Regions from separate parts of the Homo sapiens genome. Here region 2 is linked to region 1. Evidence: promoter capture Hi-C in human tissues and cell types (Jung and others, 2019). All regions are on one chromosome and are shown on one strand. The core of a region is centred on a gene start or on the middle of the fragment in contact, and the rest is flanking DNA. Distances in the headings are between cores, read along the strand shown.

The links. The method cuts DNA at HindIII sites, captures the fragments that hold promoters and counts their contacts. A contact is called where the count stands out against the background at its distance.
Region 2: a fragment that was not itself captured here is called in contact with the fragment with the promoter of SLC22A31 in region 1 in 1 of the 25 tissues and cell types used here (dorsolateral prefrontal cortex).

Annotation. Positions count from the first base shown.
Region 1 is chr16:89,198,034-89,202,048 of GRCh38, reverse strand. SLC22A31 (solute carrier family 22 member 31) reads left to right here and starts at 1,512. Exons shown (of 9, transcript NM_001384763.1): 1 at 1,512-1,571; 2 at 2,233-2,336; 3 at 2,482-2,636; 4 at 2,858-3,026; 5 at 3,252-3,397; 6 at 3,499-3,607; 7 at 3,713-3,927. The coding sequence starts at 1,548. RefSeq lists a silencer at 356-445 and enhancers at 738-1,360, 2,609-3,232. The HindIII fragment of the contact is 13,129 bases long and covers 1-4,015 here.
Region 2 is chr16:89,041,038-89,044,810 of GRCh38, reverse strand. No RefSeq gene overlaps it. Among named protein-coding and RNA genes, the nearest start is that of ACSF3, 51 kb to the left of the region's middle. The HindIII fragment of the contact is 7,491 bases long and covers 1-3,773 here.

The DNA.
Region 1 (4,015 bases), core at 263-2,762:
GCGGGGACCACCCCGGGACGCCGGCCGGAGCCCGCGCGCCCCCGGGCAACCTGAGTGCACCTGCGCCGCGAGGGCACCTGAGCGCTCCCGGCCACGCCCCTGCCACGCCCCCGGCCCCCACGTGCCGCCCTCACGGGGCCCCGCCCCCTCGCGGTTCGGCCGCAAGCCCCGCCTCTCAACCTTCCCGCCCCTCAACCTCCCCGCCCTATGCCCCAGATCGGGCCCCGCCCCTTTACGCCTTAGGCCCCGCCCTCACACCGCCCGCCCCCACACCCCGCCTCCACTGGACTCAGGCTCCGCCCCTTAATGCCTCGCCCCAAAGCCCCGCCCCAGGAGCCCGCCCTGGTCCAGGCCCCGCCCCGTCCCGAGCGCAGCCTGCGACCGATGGAGCAGGAGGCGCGGGTGCTGAGAGCTGCGGGCGGCTTTGGCCGGGCCCGGCGCCTGCTGGCCTCCGCCTCGTGGGTACCCTGCATAGTGCTGGGGCTGGTGCTGAGCTCCGAGGAGCTGCTTACCGCGCAGCCCGCGCCCCACTGCCGACCGGACCCCACGCTGTTGCCCCCAGCGCTGCGCGCCCTGCGCGGACCCGCGCTGCTGGACGCCGCCATCCCGCGCCTGGGGCCCACGCGAGCCGCGAGCCCCTGCCTGCTCCTGCGCTACCCCGATCCCGCGCCCTGCACCCGCCCCGGGCCCGCGCCCCGCGCCCGCACGCAACGGCACCCGGCCCTGCACACGCGGCTGGCTCTACGCGCTGCCCGGCGCCGGCCTCCTGCAAAGCCCGGTCACCCAGGTGCGCCCCCGTCCCTGCTGCCCCGCAGCCCTCCCCGCCCCCAGCCCGCCGAGGCCCTGGGTGTCCTTTCTCCATCCTACCTGGCGCCTCTGACCCGGGCCCCCCGGCCGTCCTCCTGGGCTTCCTGCTCCGGGGCGGCCGCCGGCCCGACGGTGCCGCAGACGGGCGCGCACGGGCCGGACCCGCGGAGAGGGGCCGGGCGGGGGCTGAATCTGGGCCTGGGAGCTGCCAGGCGCGGGGCGGCCTGGGGCGCTGGAGGATTGGAGCCGAAGGCGCCGGTGGGGGAGCAGGGCCTGGAATTTGCTTCAGGACCACCAGCGTCTTCAGCAGACCGTGGCTTTGGGCTGGCTTTCCAAGGCAGAGTCTCTGCTTGGAGGGACTGACGTGGTCAGCACAGACTGGGGAAGGTGGGCTTCCCATCAGTGAGGTGCGCAGAGGCTGGGCTAGAGACTGCATTGCCTGAAGGGAAACCTTGACGATCTGCGTGAGAAGAGATGGGGAGGCGGGCGGCAGGGACCTCCAGGCCCCTTTCATGCCTTTCCGCGCTGGGGCTGAGACCTGCACACCCCTGAGGCAGCCTTTACCCCGAGGCCCCCATCCCCCATCCTGGGAGGACTGGCCCCAGTGTGGAAACTGGAACGGGGTTGCCACATCTTCACAAGGGCTGCCTGGGGCCCTGGAACCCGCCGGGCTTCTCTCTCCACCCTGCTCCCTCCCACCTCCCACCTGCCCTCCTCCTGTTTGGTGCCTGGATCCAGGAATGCCCCATCAGCTTTCCCAAAACGTCAGGTTTGAAAGTAAAATCTCGGGCATAGCACGGCCCCCAGCAGTAGATTAAGCTTGCCAAGAAGACCCAGGAACCGGAAGGGGTGGGGGGAGGCGCAGAGCTGAGGTCAAGGGTCAAGGGCCTCACCGGGAAATGCCGCTGAGCACAGCTCTCCAGCCGCTGCCCGAGTCCCTCTTGAAATGGGCAGGGCAGGGAGGGCGTGGGTACCAGCGCAGGTGCTGGGGTTCATTTCTTAGGCCTGTGTCATGGCTATGACCCTTGGCCGGCTGGGGTGGGGGCTGTGTCTATGACGCCACCAAGGCCCTGGGTGTCCCCGGGGTCCCTCGGAATAGGAGGTGGAAACGGGTCGGACAAGAGCTGGCCGTGGGGGAAGAGCAATGGTGTGCGGAGGTGGGGGAGGCCCTATCTAGGGACAAGCAGAAAACTTAGGGTGGGCAGATCCCCCCGACCCCTGTGCAGGGGCTGCCGGAGACCAGAGAGGCTGCTGTGTGACCTGGACCAAGCCCCTTGCCCTCTCATGCCTCAGTTTCCCCTTCTCTCCACGGAGGGATTGAGCAGGACATGGAGGGCCCCTTCCAGTAGCCATTCTGGGACTCCCTGCACCTGTCCCCAGGGGAGGGTCCTGAGCTGGCCTCCACGTGGCTGCTGTTCCCCATAGTGGAACCTTGTGTGTGGAGACGGCTGGAAGGTCCCGCTGGAGCAGGTGAGCCACCTCCTGGGCTGGCTGCTGGGCTGTGTCATCCTGGGAGCAGGCTGTGACCGGTGAGGCCCCTTCCCTTTTCCTGCTGCCCAGCAGCCCTCCCCTCCGCCCACTCTCAGGGTTCAGCTAGACCTGGTGCTGCCAGGATGAAGGTTGGACCCTGGGTTATCCTGACCCTGTCCAAGCATGTCCCCCGCTGCCCACCAGGTTTGGACGCCGGGCAGTTTTTGTGGCCTCCCTGGTGCTGACCACAGGCCTGGGGGCCAGTGAGGCCCTGGCTGCCAGCTTCCCTACCCTGCTGGTCCTGCGCCTACTCCACGGGGGCACATTGGCAGGGGCCCTCCTCGCCCTGTATCTGGCTCGTGAGTACCCTGGGGGCTGCTGTCACTGGGGGAGGGGCAGTGGGTGGCCCGCAGGCCTCTGAGGCTCCCTTGCCGAGGGCCCCGAGCTGCAGGGACAGTGAGCAGTGAGTCCCTTGGGCATCCCGCTCCTGGGCAGGTCACCAATAGGTCCCCGCAGTTCCCAATGGAACTGTTCCAGTCCTCCCCGAGGCCTCCACTTCAACCTGTCTGTGTCTGCCCAGGCCTGGAGTTGTGTGACCCTCCCCACCGCCTGGCCTTCTCCATGGGGGCTGGCCTTTTCTCGGTGGTGGGCACCCTGCTGCTGCCCGGCCTGGCTGCGCTTGTGCAGGACTGGCGTCTTCTGCAGGGGCTGGGTGCCCTGATGAGTGGACTCTTGCTGCTCTTTTGGGGGTAAGTGTGGTGGGAGCTGGGCCAGCAGCCCTCATCGGGGCTGACTATGTAGCTTCCCTCTGCACCGACGTATCCCATGCCAGGTAAACGCATGGGTTACAGGGTCACAGAGAACTACAGTGATGTCCTGCCCCTGAGCCTGGGGGTGGGGTGGGGGCCCTGGCCTTTGCCTCTCCTTCCAGGAGGAGGTGGAGGGAGCCGTGGGCATCCTCACCAACGCTGCAGGTTCCCGGCCCTGTTCCCCGAGTCTCCCTGCTGGCTGCTGGCCACAGGTCAGGTAGCTCGAGCCAGGAAGATCCTGTGGCGCTTTGCAGAAGCCAGTGGCGTGGGCCCCGGGGACAGTTCCTTGGAGGAGAACTCCCTGGCTACAGGTCAGGCGCCTACCAGGGAGGAGGGAGATTCAGGTACTGGAGGAGGGCTTCGGAGAGGCACAGCTCCTCACCCCCCTCCCCTCACATCTCTGCGGCTACAGAGCTGACCATGCTGTCTGCACGGAGCCCCCAGCCCCGGTACCACTCCCCACTGGGGCTTCTGCGTACCCGAGTCACCTGGAGAAACGGGCTTATCTTGGGCTTCAGCTCGTGAGTCGAGGAAGGGCTGGGGTCCTGCACCATCCCCCGGGGTGGGCATATGGTCCCCAGAGTCCCCGGCTCTGGCTGGGCCCATAGATTTGCTCTCTCTCCCAGGCTGGTTGGTGGAGGCATCAGAGCTAGCTTCCGCCGCAGCCTGGCACCTCAGGTGCCGACCTTCTACCTGCCCTACTTCCTGGAGGCCGGCCTGGAGGCGGCAGCCTTGGTCTTCCTGCTCCTGACGGCAGATTGCTGTGGACGCCGCCCCGTGCTGCTGCTGGGCACCATGGTCACAGGCCTGGCATCCCTGCTGCTCCTCGCTGGGGCCCAGTGTGAGCTTGGGGCCCCGCAGGCCATACAGGAGCCATTGTGTTTGGGCCGACGGTCTGCCACACCAGGGGGCCATAGTGCCGACAGGGG
Region 2 (3,773 bases), core at 875-3,374, 160 kb after region 1:
CAGCCCTTTCCCGGGCCAGGGGGTGGCCGGCGGTCACTGCCGGGTTCCATCTGCTGGATGCAGGAGAGTGGCTCCAGATGCACTGGGAGGGCCGCGTTCGAATGTCAATTCCATCTTCTCACAATCATTTTCCGCATCTTCTTAGTGCCGGGCGAACGCAGCCTGCTCGTTTGAATGCATAATTAGCCCAAGCATTCTACCTCGCTAATTTCAAGGCAGGGGAAGGGAATGGAGGGGGGCTTGGGAATTTGCATATTAATTTAGCCGAGGGAGAGAAAAATTGTTTACCACTTCCTTCACACAGTTGCTCACAGAGGACTTAACTCTTTCCTGCTCCGCGTCTGGGGCTTGGGGGAGAGGGTGTGCATGGGAGGTGCGGCCAGCCCTCCCGCTGCGTCCACTCCAGGGCGGTCCCTGCACACAATGTGCTGGGCTCAGCCACAGCCCCCTTTCTTTGCAAGGACCACATGGGGGCTGTCTGGGTGCCAAACATGTACGGACAGGGGCTGCTGGGGACGCCCTCCTCGGCTGGTCCTCACCTGCAGTTTTCAGGAGCCAGAGACACCTGGATCCACAGTGTTCATCTATTTTCTCCACAATGCTCCCCCAGCCCCAGATCGGGCATCAGTACAGTGCTGGGTAGAGGGGGGGCACACACGCTGCCCCCACACCAGGGTGACAGGGGCAGCCGGCAGAGGGTGAGGTCCTGCAGAACCTTTGAGTCAGGGAGAGTAAGCGTCCACTGGGGGAGTCAAGGCAGGCTTCCTGTAGGAGGTGGTATCTTCCCTGGGCCTTGTAGGGTAAGCATGCTTCTCCAAGCGAGGGTGCAGGTGACTGGAAGGTCCTGGGGCCTAGGGCCACACCAGAGACCCTTGGGGAGTCTGGGCCATTTATCCTGACCCGATTTGAGTGAGGGCTTGTGAGGTCTCAGAAGTCGGGAAGGCTTGTGCAGGGCTCGGATGGTGGATTGCGGCCTGTGCCAGCAAACAGCCCAACTGCTCCTCGCCCCTGTCTAGTCTGTGGAGTGGAGAATAATTCTAAGGGTTACTAAGAGGTCTGCAGCGCATCCCCTTGGAAAGGGCCTGGTGCCCCACACCAACCTGGCAATACCGGTTCTCCCAGGAGATGGTTTCCACATCTGTGTTTCTATATAGAAATGATCATCCACCTGCATTCGACACCCCCAGGCACTTGTGAGACCAAATGGGGAGAGCGCATGGTGTTTTGCACGGCCCTGCCCCAGCCCGGGAGGTGCTGGACAGGAGCCACCCGCTGTCATGTCTCCTGATGGCAGCCATGAGGCTTGCACGGGGTCCCCGTGTTCCTGTTGTGCACAGATGCCGCCTGGATGGCAGAGCTCGGCTCCGTCTTCTTCAGGACAGGGAAGGCTCTGCTGCTGGGAGGGGCTGGCATGTCAGGAAGGGCCATGTTGGGGGACGGGAGGGCAGCTGCCGGGGGCTTTAAGCACCCATGGCGGGGAGGGTGGTGGCAGACAGAGAGGGCCATGAGCGGGAATGGAAGGATGTCAGAGGCGGGGACGAGGCTGAGCGAGCAGAGCTGAGATGGTCTCTGCGGGGTGGAGGCCAGGCCGGCCCAGACCTGGCCACTCTCATGGTGACTTTAGGCTACTCCCTTCTCAGTTTCTTGATCTGTAGCTTGAGAGGCCGGTCCCATCCTGAGCCACGGCAGGCATGACGGATCAATCATAGAATCTTCTCCCGCCACCTCACGGGAATTCCAGGACGCCACTGCTCGTCAATTCTCCCTGGCAGTCGGGCGGCCCCTGTTTGCCACCTGGGTTAGATGAGTTCCAAGACGCCCTCATGCCTGGGCCCACTCAGGGCTAATCTATGCCCCCCACACAGGTCACCCAGGAGCCCACGGGCCTCAGCGTTGAAGACCCCACAACGGCTGTCTCCAGTGAATAGGAGCAACCTCAAGCTCTCTCCATGACGGCCGCAGAGCCTGGAGACCTGGTGCAGACCCCTCCTGCTCCCCCCAGCAGCTTCACAGCAACCAGATGCATGGGGTCTGCACCCTGGCAGGCCAGCCCCACACCCATCACTGCACCCTGGCAGGCCAGCCCCACGCCCATCGCTGCACCCTGGCAGGCCAGCCCCGCGCCCATCGCTGCACCCTGGCAGGCCAGCCCCGCGCCCATCGCTGCACCCTGGCAGGCCAGCCCCGCGCCCATCGCTGCACCCTGGCAGGCCAGCCCCGCGCCCATCGCTGCACCCTGGCAGGCCAGCCCCGCGCCCATCGCTGCACCCTGGCAGGCCAGCCCCGCGCCCATCCACACGCCTGGGAAACCCCAGCCACACGCCTCCACCCGCTCCCATCTCAGCAGCACACTGTGACCCAAACACGGGCTGTGGGTTCAGAGACCTGGGTTCCGGAAGTCTAAGCTCAGCTGCTGACTGCCCTGTGACCAACGGGTCAGCCCCCACCCTGCACTTCTGTCCACACATCGTGGCGACCTGCTGGTCACCGGCCACGCCTGGCACACAGGATGTGCTCAGTAAAGCCTGGGCTCGTGAGTGCCACGCACAAGTTCAACAGAGGAAGCTGCAGAGCAACGGCTACGCAGGCCAGGACGGGAGGCCCGGGGAGGCCAAGGGCATGCTGAGGCCAGGACGGGAGGCCCGGGGAGGCCAAGGGCATGCTGAGGCCAGGATGGGAGGCCCGGGGAGGCCAAGGGCATGCTGAGGCCAGGACGGGAGGTCCGGGGAGGCCAAGGGCATGCTGAGCCCAGGACGGGAGGCCCGGGGAGGCCAAGGGCATGCTGAGCCCAGGACGGGAGGCCCGGGGAGGCCAAGGGCATGCTGAGGCCAGGACGGGAGGCCCGGGGAGGCCAAGGGCGTGCTGAGGCCAGGACGGGAGGCCCGGGGAGGCCAAGGGCGTGCTGAGGCCAGGACGGGAGGCCCGAGGAGGCCAAGGGCATGCTGAGGTCTAGGTGGGAGGCCCAGGGAGGCTAGGGGTGCCCGGAGGTCTGGGCGGGAGGGTGGTGGGAATACCAATAGCTGAGCTGCTCTGCAAGTGCTCACAGGCACCCACGGGGGGCCAGCCGAGCACAGGAGTTTGCTGCTGCCAGGAAGACACCGACGTGGCCCAGAACCAGGAAAGCTGCTGCTGCCGTGAGATCAGGGCTGGTGGGGCCAGACAGCGGCAGGGGCCGAGGACACTCCTGGTCCTAGTGCTGGGAAGTCGGAGCCAGGCGCTTCCTCAGTCCCCCAACCTAGCCAGGCTCCCAGGCCAGCCCCTTGCCATGGACGCCTCTGCTAGACGTGAGGACAAGAGGCACTGCTGCCATGGGGCCCTTTCCTGGGTTCAGCCCAGCATGGTTGAGATGTGTCCCTGTGGTGTCAGAGAAAAGGAGGGACGTGCGGTTCAGTAACTGGCCCAGAGCGCCCAGAGCCGCACAGCCAGTGACAGATGCTCATGGACTACCGGCCTCCTCCCGTCCCTCAGGGGATTGCAGGTGTAGGGAAAGGGCATTCCCCGGGGCAGGGGAACTCGAGTGGAGGGCCGGCACTCTGGAGAACTTGAACCCAGGCCGACTCGGTTGCCCTCCCACCTGAGCCGGGAGTAAGGTTGCGCCAAGGAGCAGGCGTGACATCAGCTCAAACAGGAGGGGAGGGAAGGAGCCCCAGCGCCGCATCCCCCCTTGCCCAGGCCTCCCTGGGCTCCTCCTGCACAGGATGGGGTGAGGCCAGGACTGAGAGCAGCCTATGGGCACTGACCGGAGTCCAGGGAGCCCAGCACTCCCTCCATGG